Regions from separate parts of the Homo sapiens genome. Here regions 1, 2, 3 and 4 are each linked to region 5. Evidence: promoter capture Hi-C in 16 types of primary human blood cells and fetal thymus (Javierre and others, 2016). All regions are on one chromosome and are shown on one strand. The core of a region is centred on a gene start or on the middle of the fragment in contact, and the rest is flanking DNA. Distances in the headings are between cores, read along the strand shown.

Region 1 (2,778 bases), core at 243-2,742, 7.9 Mb before region 5:
AAGGAAAACTCCAACTTTCCAAGCCCAAGTAACAAAAAGACCAGAGGCTATTCCCTTTGCAACCCCCTGCCCAACCTTCTAGGCCCTTGGTATCTGGGCCTAGTCTTCATTTCCATAGGAGTACAACTTTGTAACTTAACTTTAGCCTCTGATTGGTTGCAGGCTACTCCTTAATTTACAGAGGGTGTAAACCAAGTAACCAATGGGAAATCTCTAGCGGATATTTAAACTCCAGAAAATCCTGTAACCAGGGCTCTTGAGCCACTGGCTGGAGGCCATTCCCACTCTGTGGAGTGTACAGTCATTTCAATCTCTGCTTTCCTTGCTTCATTCTTTCCTTGCTTTCTTTGTGCGTTTTGTCCAATTCTTTGTTAAAAAAACCAAGAACCTGGATGACTTGTAGTCAAGACCCTCCATGGGTAACATTGGGACTATACAAAAGCCTTAGAAATCGTGGAATGATTTTTCAACCACATTATCTGATTCTAATGATGAACAGACCTGTAGACCGGTCTGAATCTTGGGATTTGCCTATCAAAAAACTCGGCTTTCCCTACTGCACAGGTCTTCAGAAGCGCATGTCTAACAAGGCTAATATTCCATCATCGGGATCAAATTGCTCACCGGATAGTAAAAAGACACTACAGAATTTCAGGGGTTCTCTGCCAATGAGAACTTCTGAATTATGTAGAACGGATCAGCTACTAAGCAGTGTTCTATCTTCCTACTCTTCTAATCGATTGTCATCCCTTAAAGCGCTGCTAATTCTAGAAAACAATCTATAACCTGTTAGAATCAGCGCAAGCTGGTGATGACTACAAGTCCCATGATGCAAAGTATGAGCACGGACCAATGTTGGTCGCAGTTCCTTCTGGGAATTGTAGTCTTCTCCTGTTTGGCAAACTAGGTATTGTAGCCTCCATTTCTCAGAAGTTCAGTTGGAAAACTAAAGATAGTGCAGAGAATGTCGATTTCCTGCCACAAGATTACATTTATCTTCGCTACCTGAGCGCCCAGCCGATCAACTCCAGTCGCTCCTCCGGTGGGCGGGCGCCCATGCCGTGACATCACTTCCGGCAGAGATGTGTGTGTGACGCTCTCTCTCTCTCTCTCTCGCTCTCGCTCTCTCCCTCGCTCGTTTTCTTTCTCTTTCTCTCTCTCTCTCTCTCTCTCTCTCTCTCTCTCTCTCTCTCTCTCTCTCTCTCTCTGTCTCTCGCTCTTGCCCTCTCTCTCTCTCTTTCTCTCTGTCTCTGTCTCTCTCTCTCTCTCTCTCTCTCTCTCTCTCTCTCTCTCCCTCCCTCCCTCCCTCCCTCCCTCTCTCTCTCTCTCTCTCCCCCCCCCCCCCCCCCCGCCCAGTTCGGCCCCTCCTTCCACACAGCAGGGATCTTGGGCCCGGGCAGAGACTGGCTGAGGCGGGGAGCAGCTGCTTTTGGGGCGGGGGTGTCACGTGAGGCTTCTCGCTGCTGAGGGAGGAGGCGAAAAGCTGCGGTTAAGGAGAGTCCGGTTTAACCGTCACCGGGAAGCGCGCTCGTTCGGGATCGCCGAGGGGGCTGAGGTAAAGACTGGGTCATTACCTCAGGACAGGCGGTCGCTGTCCCGGGTTCTCGTACGGGTGACACCTGCAACCTTGATGTCTGGCGGGCGGCAAGGGGCTCCGCGGGAGAGTGGAGAGGCGCCGCAGGAAGCCCAGCCACCTTCAGGCCACCGCCGACCCCACTGTGCGTCTGGGAGGCGCTGGGCGCGCACCGGTCAGCGGAGGCGGGAGAGTCTGTGATCCCAGGGAGCTGCGGGTCTCGCCGCCTGCAGTGCGGAAGACCCGTGACCGGCGCAGACCCCGGCCTTACCTTCCGAGGGTCGAACTGTGCCTGGTATTTGCCTCTTTCCTCCCGCCCACGGGGTTGCTCAGAGTCGGGCCACCTCACCTGAGGTTTTCCAGAGTGAGAATGAACTGAGCGTCCTGGGAGCAACTCCGCATCAGGGTAGAGGCGAAGACGCTCCTAATGAGCACAGCACGTTTTTTTGTTTGTTTGTTTGCTTGTTTTGTTTTTTTAACGCTTGGGTAGCGCTCACATCTTCGGACGTCAGTGGTTGTGTTGATATGTATTGATATGCGACCTCCCCCCAGCCAGGCGGCCTCAGGTAGTAGAGTGGCAAAGGCCAGGTAGATCCCTCGGACCTTGAGAAGGTTGAGATTTCAGACTTACTTGTTTTTGGGGAGGCCGTCAGGCGGAACCGAGGAGCGGTGAATCAGCAGCTAAAGTTTCATGAATCTTTGATAATGGGGAAATGTTGCCGAGAGCCACTTGAGTTAAAAATCTTTTTTTTTTTTTTTTTTGAGACGGAGTTTTCCTCTTGTAGCCCAGGCTGGAGTGCAATGGCACGATCTCGGCAAACTGCAACCTCCGCCTCCCGGGTTCAAGCGATTCTCCTGCCTCAGCCTCCCAAGTAGCTGGGATTATAGGCCTGCGCCACCATGCCCGGCTAATTTTTGTATTTTTAGTAGAGACGGGGTTTCACCATGTTGGCCAGGCTAGCCTCGAACTCCTGACCTCAGGCGATCCACCCGCTTCATCCTCCCAAAGTGCTGGGATTACAGGCGTGAGCCACAGCGCCCAGCCCAGAGTTAAAAATCTTATTTCAGCATCTTTCCAAGTCCAGGTGACTCATTTCTTACCTTTCCCACCAGTAGAGTTTCGTATGAAAAGTTGGGCAGTTATTGTTGTGTGTAGTCTTGTCATTTTGTTGGTCTGTAGTTGTTACAGTTTCTTATGAGTTTAT
Region 2 (2,700 bases), core at 121-2,620, 7.4 Mb after region 5:
GGAGAGAAAAAGAAAAGCTGTTTTATCTTCCCTTACCTTCCCAGAATCTATACCTTGAAAAAAGGAACTGTTAAAAAAAAAAAAGCCAGTGTGTTTAGGTTTTGACAGCAGTGCATGCAAGCTTCTCTCTTAATTCAGCTCCTCTTAATTCACTCTGCACCTGCATCTGATTTGCAAAAGATGAAGCGTAAAATTTCAAAATAGCAAGTGTTTGTTACAGTGTTAACATGTGGCTCAGTGCTCTATGCAATAGACCATGTTGCCTTGCAAATTTTCCTTAGCCAAGTGTAATTGTTACTGTAGCAAATCTACTTTAATGCTACTTGAAATGAACAGTTCGTAGTTATTAGACTGGAACCTCAAGTAGCTGCAACCGCTAGAAACTCCTCCGGTGGTTCCCCCCTCCCTGGTCTCTCCAGAGGGAAGAAGGTCACCTTCTACACTTAACTACCATGCTCATTCATCTGGACGAAATGCCCAGTCCACTGTCTTCTTCACGCGTTATTCTCCAGGACAGGGCTCCTCCGCCGCGCACGTTATTTCCTGTAGAGCGGGCACGAAATTAAGCACCTTGAAGACCAGCGGTAGACACAGATTATCTCCGGTTCCAAGCACGTCTCCCGCTAGGAACTTTTTTCACTTGTCACTCTTCTGCTGCTTTTTGAGGAAAACAGGTGATATTTGGTTTCCTGCCAGAGTCTTCGTCACTCTCGTAACTATGATGTCTGGGTAAAAATAGCTCACATTTTTGCTTAAAAAATAACGGCCGCGCAAATTTATGGTTAGATTTGTCTCAAGTCTGAAGACCGCGCATCCTAACTAGTGAGGCGGAAGACACCTAAGGAGCCAGGAGCTGTCGCCGAGGCGAGGCTGCGGAGACGTTCCCTTGGTGGGCCGCGGGACCACCCACCCCGCCAGAAACTCGGTTCGCTCACCCTAAGAATTTTGGGGCAACTGGACTTCTCCACCGCCCGCTTCCGGACCCGCTCCGGCGCCGCTTCCGGACCCACTCCTCGGCGAGCGCAGGAACTCGCTCTCCCAGCAGGCCCCGCGCGGTGCGCCTCTCGGCGCGTTCCGGGTCCTATGACAGCTCGGCTCGCATGCGCCACCTACGGCCCCACCCGCGGCCCCACCCCCTGGCTCCCGGCTCCTTCCCCGACTCCCGCGAGTTCCAGTCCCAGCTTCCAGCTCCCCAGCCCCGCCCTCAGCCGCGCGCGCTCTCCCCTCCCCGCCCTCGCTTCTTCGCGTGCGGCCCCCACAGCCAATGAGGTTCAGGGCCGCGTGCGCAGATTCAAACGGCGGCTCTTGAGGGAGGCTGGGCGCGAGATTCGGCGGTGCGGACAAAACCCTGCAGGAGACTGCGAGCCCTGCAGAACTGCTAGCTGCGGGGGAGAGGGCAGGGGTCGGGCGCCTGTGGCGGAGCCGGGCTGGGGCCAGGGCAGGGAGGCTGACAAGCGGCGGGAGAAGCCGGCGGAGGGCGGGATCGCGCCTCCTGACATGTTGGGGGTATCCCTGGCCGGGCCGGGCCGGGGCTAAGAGCGGCGCTGCGGGCCGGGGTCGGGGTCGGGTCGCGGTCCGCCCCCGCTGTCCCTCCGTCCTGCCCTGTCGAGGACGTGCGTTCCGCACTCGGCCGCCTCCAGAGGGAGCGAGGGAAGCGGCTAGAGGATCGGGGAGAAGGAGCATTCGCCGGAGGCTGGAGGAGGCTGACCCGCGTCCCCGCCCAGCCTGCTCCTATGCGGTACTTGAAGGATGGCGAAGAGGTCGCGCAGGTGGGTGGCACCCCTTTCGCCCAGGCCTGTCGGCGCCGTCTCGGCTCAGATTCTCTTTCCTATCCCGCTGCCCCCTCCCGCCATAAGGCCCTCCCTGGCGAGGGCAGAGGTTTTTCTTCCCGCGTCCCCGCGGCCGCTTGGCCTCGATGACCGGAGGGCAGCTGCGACGTGTGGAGAGTTGGGGACCAGGGTGTTTGAGGCGCGGGACGTAAGAGATGCCCAGGTTTCTCGGTGACTCTCCCCGTAATGCGCGTCCAGATTTCTGACCTCATGCTGCCACTTCTTCGAGGCAGGTTTCTTGCCAGGTAAGTCGAGCGCTTTTAGGGAGTCCGCTACGCAGAGAAAACTGACTGTGTCCTGCCGGGAGGACTTGAAAATGGTGTTCGGGCGACTCTTTTCTGAATGACGGTACAGTCAAAATAGGAACTCCGCGGTGAACCTGGGCGGCCACCCCTCTGCCAACTTGGCTATCTTGAAACGTTGTGGAAAATCCTCTGGGGAATAGCTGAGAGGACTTTTTTGATGTTTTCTGTAATTCCTATACCCATATGCTCAGCTTTATGTATATATGTATATTTTAATATCCTCTCTTGGGACCATGTCACATAGTAACAACTAGTAGTAACAACTAGTAGCTTGATCTTGAAATAAAACAATGTGTTTGATTCACTTAATATTTTGAGTGTCTGTGTTTGGCTCTGACCGTACCTAAGTGTTCCACAGAGGTAAGGCACTTTTTTCCACCTTTGCCTGGAAAATGTGCTAGGATGAATTTATGCATCTAATTTTCGTTTACATGCCATTACAGCAGCTACTCATAAATTATGTGGAGTAATTGCTTAGATAACAAAAATATAGGATGTCTTCCGATTTTCAGCATTATCAAATAAACCTGAAAAGATGTTTGGCAGGATTTCCAAATATTTATTTA
Region 3 (2,855 bases), core at 292-2,791, 7.3 Mb after region 5:
GGTTTTTTTTTTTTTTTTGAGACGGAGTCTTGCTCTGTCGCCCAGGCTGGAGTGCAGTGGCGTGATCTCGGCTCACTGCAAGCTCCGCCTCCCGGGTTCACGCCATTCTCCTGCCTCGGCCTCCCAAGTAGCTGGGACTACAGGCGCCCGCCACTACGCCCGGCTAATTTTTTTGTATTTTTAGTAGAGACGGGGTTTCACCATGTTAGCCAGGATGGTCTCGATCTCCTGACTTCGTGATGCATCCGCCTCAGCGTCCCAAAGTGCTGGGACTACAGGCGTGAGCCACCGCGCCCGGCCGGGATTTTTTGGTAAGCAGCAGCGTAAAAATCACTCTCAAGGTTTGAGATTGGGATCCAGCATAACTGGTGACTTGACCTTGGGCAAGTCACTTAATTCCTTTTAGTCTCAGTTTCCCTGATTGTAAATGAAGTCAACACCACCTGGTAAAGGTATTACAGGACTGGTGTGAGGATGAGATGATACATGTGAACATATTATTAAATATGTAAACTATAAGGCAATAGTAAGCAAATGCTAGTTACTATTCTATGTAATACAGGCCTAACCTTTCCTGCCTATGTCCTGATCTGTAAAAAGAAGACAGGTTGAGATCTGAATGTCTATCCACTCACTTATCAGCTGCGTGAACTTTAGCAAGTCATTTCCTTTCTGGGCCTGTTTCCTAAGAAGGTTATTTTTTAAGATCAAATGATATCGTGTTATGCAAATGCTGTCCAGACACATATTAAGAACTTAACACATGATGGCTCTTATTATTCTCTGGGGAGTAGGGTGGTAAAGAGCAAATGAAATTAAACCTAGTTAAGAGAATTTGTATATGCACACAAAACTCTACAGACATCCAAGGTACCGTTATTTGCACTGTAAACTGCCAAAACATGCAGGAAACGAGAAATCAAATGGCGCCTCAGTGATTCGCACTAGAGAGGGGGAGAAGGCAGAGCTTCCGAGAATCAACTGTTTTCCCCCTTATGGCCTCCAGCCTAGATTAGACCATTTATTCAACTTCCCAGCCCCCAATATCCCTGGACATTTATTTACTGTACCTTTTTCACTGAGAGCCTTTCCACTCCCCTCCCCTTCTAGTAGTCGTGAACTTCAGACCCTCGCTTCGACTCCCACTGCCATAACTGTTTTTAACCAAGCTTCCCTGAATCCTCCCCTCCGCCTAAGGAGGAAGTGCAGCTAGACGCACCGCACGGCATCCTAGGAAATGTGGTCTCTCAGACTCTTTGCCTTGGGCTGCAGAGTGGGGAAGACGACGAAGGAGAGCCCAGTAAAACTACAACTACCGGCAGGCAACGCGAGTCACCATCTTTCTTTCGCCCCTTTTCCTGTTGCCGTCCTCTTCCTCCTCTCCTCTAGCGCTGAACCGCTTGGCCTCACGGTACTTGTAGTTCCTTCTGGACTCAAGATCCTAGGGCTTGATGGCCAGCACAGAGGCTGGAAGACTCTAATTCCCAGAGGGCAGAGCGGAAGCTGCGCCTGCGCACACTCAATGAGGGCGTGTATGTCTGTGTCTGAGGGAGAGAGAGCGAGAGTGAGTGAGTGTGAGTGCGGGGTGGGGTGGTGGCCGTTACGTTCGGGGCAACGGCTACGGCAGTGGAGAAGTAAGAAGAGAAACAACGTCCGGCGCTTCCGCCTTCGCTTAGGAGGAGGAAGAGCTGGTAGGGAAAGGAAAGTGCTTCGCCCTGGGCCTGGACTGGACCGAGTCGGGTTGGTGGGGGTCTGGGCTATGAGCTTTTGAGGGTCGCCTGGGACGCGGAGCGAGACACGAGAGCCAGGAGCTATGTCTCAGCCGCCGCCGCCGCCGCCTCCGTTGCCGCCGCCACCTCCTCCCCCTGAGGCTCCACAGACTCCGTCGTCCTTGGCGTCGGCGGCTGCTTCGGGGGGGCTTTTGAAGCGGAGAGACCGGAGAATCCTTTCCGGGAGCTGCCCGGATCCGAAGTGTCAGGCGCGTCTATTTTTCCCGGCCTCCGGTTCTGTCAGCATCGAGTGTACCGAGTGCGGCCAGCGGCACGAGCAGCAACAGCTGCTGGGGGTTGAGGAGGTGACCGACCCGGACGTAGTGCTACACAACCTGCTGCGGAACGCGCTGCTCGGGGTTACGGGGGCACCCAAGAAGAACACGGAACTGGTAAAGGTGATGGGCCTTTCCAACTATCACTGCAAATTGTTGTCGCCCATATTAGCTCGCTATGGAATGGACAAACAGACAGGCCGGGCCAAGCTTCTCCGGGACATGAACCAGGGCGAACTGTTCGATTGCGCCTTACTGGGTGACCGCGCCTTCCTCATAGAACCAGAGCATGTTAACACTGTGGGCTATGGCAAGGACCGCTCCGGAAGCCTCCTGTATTTGCATGACACTCTGGAGGACATTAAGCGGGCCAATAAAAGCCAGGAATGTCTCATTCCAGTGCATGTGGACGGGGATGGACACTGCTTGGTGCATGCTGTGTCTCGGGCTCTAGTAGGCCGAGAGCTCTTCTGGCATGCCTTAAGAGAGAATCTTAAACAGCACTTTCAGCAGCACCTGGCCCGATATCAAGCTCTGTTCCATGACTTCATTGATGCTGCTGAGTGGGAGGACATTATCAATGAGTGTGACCCTCTGTTTGTACCACCTGAGGGTGTTCCCTTGGGCCTGAGGAATATCCACATATTTGGTCTTGCCAATGTGCTACATCGTCCTATTATTCTGTTAGATTCCCTCAGTGGCATGAGAAGCTCTGGTGATTATTCAGCCACCTTTCTACCTGGGCTCATCCCTGCAGAGAAGTGCACTGGGAAAGATGGTCATTTGAACAAACCAATCTGTATTGCATGGA
Region 4 (2,785 bases), core at 189-2,688, 7.7 Mb before region 5:
GCTGAGCGCGGGTATGGGGACGCGTAGGTTTGGTCTGGGACTGTTGTCTTTTGGCTTTGCCACTGCGACCTACGGCCAGCTACTTTCCCATACTTTTTTTTACTTATCTGTTACGTAGCTGTCAGGAGGAGTTGGGGGAGGTCAACTCGCCCAACTAGTGTTCACGTGGATGTGTGTCCGGAAGAAGGCCCTTCCTTAGCTTTTATCAAATTCTCAAAGGCATCCTGATCCTCAGATTATTCCACCAAATGGTCATCATGCTCTCCCAGCTCTGTCATTCCCTGATTCTCATTATTATTGTTTGAACAAACATTTACAGATTATTGATTTTGGTGCTTGGACCACATAAGGGTGTAAACTACAGTCTTTTACACGGAAGACCTTTCCAACTAGTAAGCTGCATTTTAGAGAGAATTAGTTAATAATATGGCAATGGGCTCTCCCCATTGCACTGAGAGACCTTGGGATATACCTAGTCCAAGGTGATGTGGCATTGGCTTCAGGATGCCATACACCTTGAAAAGGCAAGTTTTTGAAGCATTAGAACCACACAGACTGCTCAGTCGTTGTTACTAGGTTTCACACACTACATAAGGTAGCAAACAGGTTTAATCTCCCCTTGGAACTTCAGTCATTGGTATCAAGTGCCTGAATTACCGTGTCAAAGACTCTTGAGATTTAGCCCAGTTTCAGTGGAGTTCCATAATTGATTAGTGATTTCTACTGTGGGAATGCGTGATAGGACAGGTGACACAATCCCTTCTAGGTTCTTGTTACTTATAGCCATCTATCTATCTATCTTTCACCACTGGCTGTAATAACAAGCCAGTGTGACTTTTTTCATGTGGAAGCTTAGCCATTTGGGTTTTGACTGTGAATTATGTGTGTCTATGCCTGATCCTTCGCTAGTGAGTCCAATACACATTATATGCCATTCATGACATAGTTCATTTTCCTTTCCAGCTATATATGTCTTTAGTGTCAATAACTGAGATGAGGCCAGGCCTATCTGTTTGGGACTAGTGGAAAGCAGTTAAGATTTAGACTACGTCAAGTGTATATCCTAAATTTTATCTACCTTCTGGAGGGATTGAAGGATGGTATCAGGTGCTGGGAAGTTGTCTTGACTTAACTCTTTCCCCTGGGTCCTTCTGGTTTGCATCTAATACTTGATTATTAAAAGTCGCAAAATATTAAGCATCTCCACCCAGTCACTGCAGTATTGTCCTTTTTTGTTTGTTTGTTTGTTTTGTTTTGAGATGGAGTCTGGCTCTGTCACCCAGGATGGAGTGCAGTGGCGCGATCTCGGCCCTCTGCAACCTCTGCCTCCTGAATTCAAGCGATTCTCCTGCCTCAGCCTCTTGAGTAGCTGGAATTACAGGCATGAACCACCACGCCCAGCTAATTTGTGTGTGTGTGTGTGTGTGTGTGTGTGTGTGTGTGTGTGTGTGTTTTCAGTAGAGATGGGGTTTCGCCATGTTGGCCAGGCTGTTTTCAAACTCTTGACCTCAGGTGATCCGCCCCCCTCGGCCTCCCAAAGTGCTGGGATTACAGGCTTAAGCCACTGTGCCTGGCCCCTTGCAGTACTGTTCTGAGTTGAGTATACTCAAAAGAAGTTAATTGTTGTATTATTCTTATTAATTATAGTTACTGTATTACTATTCTGATCTTTCATATATATCTCATTTGGTTTCTGTAAGTACACTGTGAGGTCGGTGTGGCATACAGCATAGATACAGATATAGATACACATGCATACACACATATACATATATACACAGAAAGGATGTGCTTGTATCTTTATATCTGTCTCTGTATCTACCTGTCTATATCTTTCTATTTTTCTTACCCAATAAAAGAGCTTTGGTTTTGTATATGTTTATTTACATACATATATAGAAACACACACACATATACTTTATACTAACTGTACTATATATTACATCAAATTATATATATTTGAAATACCATAAATCTTATAGGTGTATATATAAATATAAATATATTTGAATATAGTCAAGCTTTGGCGATATATATATATATATGTTGTTCACACACATATATATTAGTACACAGATATAAATATATATATTTATTGGATATATATAAAAATATATATATCCAAAGTTTTACTGTTAAGTAACTTGCCTAGCACTGTTAGATTAGTAAGCAGTGGAATCAGAATTGAATCCCAGGTTTTTCACTCCAAATGCGGAATTTTTGCAGTATACAGTCATCAAAAACAACACCTAGTAAATCTGGGAAACAAAACAAAAAAGAAAAAGAAAACCACTAGAACTTATTTTTGTCTGACTTAGTAAAGTTACAAGTAACATCTATTAATACCTTATGTTAATCCAATTACTTTCTGTCAGTTATTGAAGTTGTGATTAATTTTGTTAGAGTGGTTACATAGTGCTTGCTACACTAGGATATTAGTCAAAATGGGAAGTTTTTCCATAGAGGTTGTCTTCTTGCTTAAGAAAACTAAATCAAAATCAGATACTGACCAGTATATACATTTTCTCTCAATTTTAGATTTTCTTCCATTTGTGTGTGATGATTGTTCAGGAATATTTTGGTAAGTTAAGTTTTTATGCAGGATTTGGGAGTAATTTTAGTGTTTATTAATATGAGGTTATTTCTGAAAAGTAGAATGATTTAAAATAATTGTTACTTTAGCCATTGATTATTGATATTCAGTATAGTTATAGACTCTGATTACTTCTCCATATATATGACTGATTTTTAAACTTCCAAAAGTGGGGTTATGTATGTGAATTTT
Region 5 (2,830 bases), core at 245-2,744:
CTAAGAAATAAAATTTAATTTTACTAAAATAATTTAAGTAAAATACTCCGCAAACTCACATTATATTTAAAGTCCAGGCCTTTTACAAATACTGCTAAAATATTTATATGATAGTATTAAAGAGATCAAATCTTTCTCTAAAGACCTTGTAAATACCGTGTATCCCCTGGTCCTCTTATTTCTTGACAAGAAATAAAATTTGGCTGGGCACAGCGGCTCACGCCTGTAATCCCAACCCTTTGACAGGCCGAGGCAGGAGGATGATTTGAGGTCAGGAGTTTAAGACGAGCCTGGCCAACACGGTGAAACCCCGTCTCTACTAAAAATACAAAAAAAAAATCAGCCGGGGTGTGGTGGAGCGCGCCTGTAATCCCAACTACTGGGGAGGCTGAGGCAGGAGAATCGCTTGAACCCGGAAGGCGGAGGTTGCAGTGAGCCAAGATCACGTCACTGCACTCCAACCAGGGTGACAGAGCGAGACTTCACCTCCAAAAAAAAAGAAATAAAATTTACTTGAAATCCTACATCAAATTTCAAGGGAACAGAAGCGTTCCCCATACATCTGAAAATGAGTTTCACAGTGTATACACTTCAAAATGTAAAAGGCATGCCTAATTCCTCAATGCTGAAATGTAATTAGATTCCAATTTCCATTTTAAGCATTTCTTCCAAGTTTTAACCAGGTTTGCCAATCCTGATATTTTACAGAGTAGAATTAGAAGACAATTTATTCAGATCAAAATAAAAGAATTAACATCTGCATCCCCCTTTTCCCAGGGACCAAAGTAATTCTTAAAAGTACAGCCACCTCATAAAAGTAGAACAAGCTCAAAGTCAGGTTAACCTGGCTCTTTCGGTTCTATTTCCAGGTGCTGCATCCAATTTTTTGCAAATTAACACTTCTAAGCTTCTACTCAAGGGCAGAAAAGGAACTACATATAGTTGTCACCACAAACCCTCTGGATTTGGAACTACCATAAAAGTAAGCACTTTCCAGCCGTTCTCCTGGACTCGCGGAGGCTGAGGACCCCGGGGCCCTCGGCCTGCTACTTCTGCAAGCCCCGCAGAGGGGGCTCCTCCCGCGCTCCAGCCACGGACACCTGGGAGAGGTCGCGAAGAGCCGCTGGGGCTCCCCAGGCCCGACACGACGCCCGCCCTCCCCGCCTCACTTGGGACACCAGACCTCGGACGCCCTACCTGCGCTCGACCCGGACGCCGGAGAAGGCGCGCGGCTCCCGAAGGCCCCGTACTCCAGCCGGCTACCGGCCCCGAAGGCCCGCTGCTGGAGGACGCCCGGGAGACAGAGGCCCGGGGACCTCGGAGCGCGGCGGCCGCACACAATGCAGTCCTCCTTCCGCAGAGAGGCAGTTCGACCGCCCACGGGCTGCCCAACGCCAGAAACAGCATCACGCGGGTGACGAGCGGCTGCGGACGCCCCAGCTGCACGAGTCCACGACTGCGAGACACGGCTTCCCACCCGACTGCCGCACAAGTGGCGCATGCCCAGCCCGGGACGCCTGACTGGCAGCTGGGCTGCCTGCGCGTGCGCAGAATCTGCCGCCCGCCTGCCGCCCGCCTGCCGCCCGCCTGCCGCCCGCCTGCCGCCCGCCTGCCGCCCGCCTGCCGCCCGCCTGCCGCCTTCCCGGCCGCGCGCGTTATCCGCCAGCTGAGCTGGGAGCCCGCCGCTCTGTCCTTGGCTCAGCGGCTCCTCCTTCCTAGAATTTTACCTTCTTTATAACAGTGTGGAGGGGCAGAGGGCTGTACGAGAATGACAATGCCCAGAAGCCAGGGTTAAATATTTTTTTTTCTCGTGGACGACATCACTAAAAACTGTTTCCTTTGCGGAAAATGATTCTAGCCTGTTGGCACAGAAGAAAGAATATACGATTTGAACAAAAATGAGTGATAACTTAATTGAATCATCGGGTTGGAGGAAAATAAATGGAATTGTTCATGTAATATTGATAGGTGTTACCAGATTTGTCTTCGGAAATCATTCACATCCATATACACATTGATTCATTACTTGTTAAAGAGGTACTGAATCTATTGCCAGGACTGAGCTAGGAGCAGAGGATACAAAATACTAGATTAAACTGGGAATCCACAGTGCTTAAACAGTGGAGGAAAATACCTGAAAATTGGCTAGAATATAATGTAATACAATTGAGACACCGCAATATACAAAATGTGGCTGGCCGTGGTGGCTTACACCTGTAATCCCAGCGCTTTGGGAGGTTTAGGCAGGAAGATCTCTTGAGGCCAGGAGTTTGAGACCAGCCTGAGCAATACAGGGAGACCCCGTCTCTACAAAAAAAAAAAAAAAAAAAAAACCTAAAACAAAAATAAGCCACACATGGTAAGTGTGTGCCTGTGGTCCCAGCTACCCAGGAGGCTGACATGGTAGGATTGCTTGAGCCCAAAGTCGAGGCTTCAGTGAGCCAAGACCACACTACTGCACTCCAGCCTGGACCACAAAGTGACACCGTGTCTCAAAAAAAAGAACAAACAAATGCCACAGAAGTACAAAGAAGAACATGATTAATTTTGCCTCAGAATGTCTTCAGACTGGCTTCACATTTAGCTCAGTCTTGAAGGATGAGCATCTTAGTAATAGAAACACACTTTTGTTTACCACTGCAGAACTATACATGTTTTTGATTTGACATGTTATTTGCACCGGAGAGGAACAAATTCATAGTCTAAAATAATGTGTGGCCAGGGGCGGGAGCTCACGCCTGCAATTCCAATACTACGTGGAGGCCCAGGTGAGAGGATCACTTGATTCCAGGAGTTTGAGACCAGCCTGGGCAACAAAGTGAGACCCTGT

The links. Contacts are between HindIII fragments. The CHiCAGO score rates a contact against its expected background, and 5 or more counts as called.
Region 1: the fragment with the promoter of SNX16 here is called in contact with the fragment with the promoter of TMEM70 in region 5 in 2 of 17 cell types (neutrophils and non-activated CD4 T cells); the score reaches 9.0 in neutrophils.
Region 2: a contact is called between the fragment with the promoter of MYBL1 here and the fragment with the promoter of TMEM70 in region 5, in 1 of 17 cell types (non-activated CD4 T cells). The highest score is 5.2, in non-activated CD4 T cells.
Region 3: a contact is called between the fragment with the promoter of VCPIP1 here and the fragment with the promoter of TMEM70 in region 5, in 1 of 17 cell types (M0 macrophages). The highest score is 6.2, in M0 macrophages.
Region 4: a contact is called between a fragment that was not itself captured here and the fragment with the promoter of TMEM70 in region 5, in 1 of 17 cell types (non-activated CD4 T cells). The highest score is 6.0, in non-activated CD4 T cells.

What each region holds. Positions count from the first base shown.
Region 1 is chr8:81,840,899-81,843,676 of GRCh38, reverse strand. SNX16 (sorting nexin 16) reads left to right here and starts at 1,492. Exons shown (of 8, transcript NM_152836.3): 1 at 1,492-1,555. LINC02235 (long intergenic non-protein coding RNA 2235) reads right to left here and starts at 1,058. Exons shown (of 8, transcript NR_170320.1): 1 at 1,006-1,058. RefSeq lists enhancers at 808-1,077, 1,509-1,558, 1,486-2,418 and a silencer at 1,889-1,938. The HindIII fragment of the contact is 7,243 bases long and covers 1-2,778 here.
Region 2 is chr8:66,611,888-66,614,587 of GRCh38, reverse strand. It overlaps MYBL1 (MYB proto-oncogene like 1), which reads left to right and starts at 1,370. Exons shown (of 16, transcript NM_001080416.4): 1 at 1,370-1,769. The coding sequence starts at 1,750. It overlaps LOC105375884 (a long non-coding RNA gene), which reads right to left and starts at 1,039. Exons shown (of 2, transcript XR_929015.3): 1 at 936-1,039; 2 at 1-543. RefSeq lists enhancers at 524-573, 584-663, 714-853 and a silencer at 1,084-1,603. The HindIII fragment of the contact is 2,770 bases long and covers 124-2,700 here.
Region 3 is chr8:66,665,917-66,668,771 of GRCh38, reverse strand. VCPIP1 (valosin containing protein interacting protein 1) reads left to right here and starts at 1,541. Exons shown (of 3, transcript NM_025054.5): 1 at 1,541-2,855. The coding sequence starts at 1,814. C8orf44-SGK3 (C8orf44-SGK3 readthrough) reads right to left here and starts at 1,176. Exons shown (of 19, transcript NM_001204173.2): 1 at 1,071-1,176. C8orf44 (chromosome 8 putative open reading frame 44) reads right to left here and starts at 1,176. Exons shown (of 2, transcript NR_161217.1): 1 at 1,071-1,176. RefSeq lists enhancers at 944-1,453, 1,824-2,343, 2,594-2,653. The HindIII fragment of the contact is 1,085 bases long and covers 1,172-2,256 here.
Region 4 is chr8:81,717,978-81,720,762 of GRCh38, reverse strand. It overlaps ZFAND1 (zinc finger AN1-type containing 1), which reads left to right. Exons shown (of 8, transcript NM_024699.3): 2 at 2,539-2,581. Among named protein-coding and RNA genes, the nearest start is that of ZFAND1, 1.9 kb to the left of the region's middle. RefSeq lists an enhancer at 1-429. The HindIII fragment of the contact is 1,170 bases long and covers 854-2,023 here.
Region 5 is chr8:73,974,859-73,977,688 of GRCh38, reverse strand. It overlaps TMEM70 (transmembrane protein 70), which reads right to left and starts at 1,494. Exons shown (of 3, transcript NM_017866.6): 1 at 1,198-1,494. The coding sequence starts at 1,407. RefSeq lists silencers at 1,146-1,195, 1,361-1,576, 1,626-1,705. The HindIII fragment of the contact is 7,182 bases long and covers 910-2,830 here.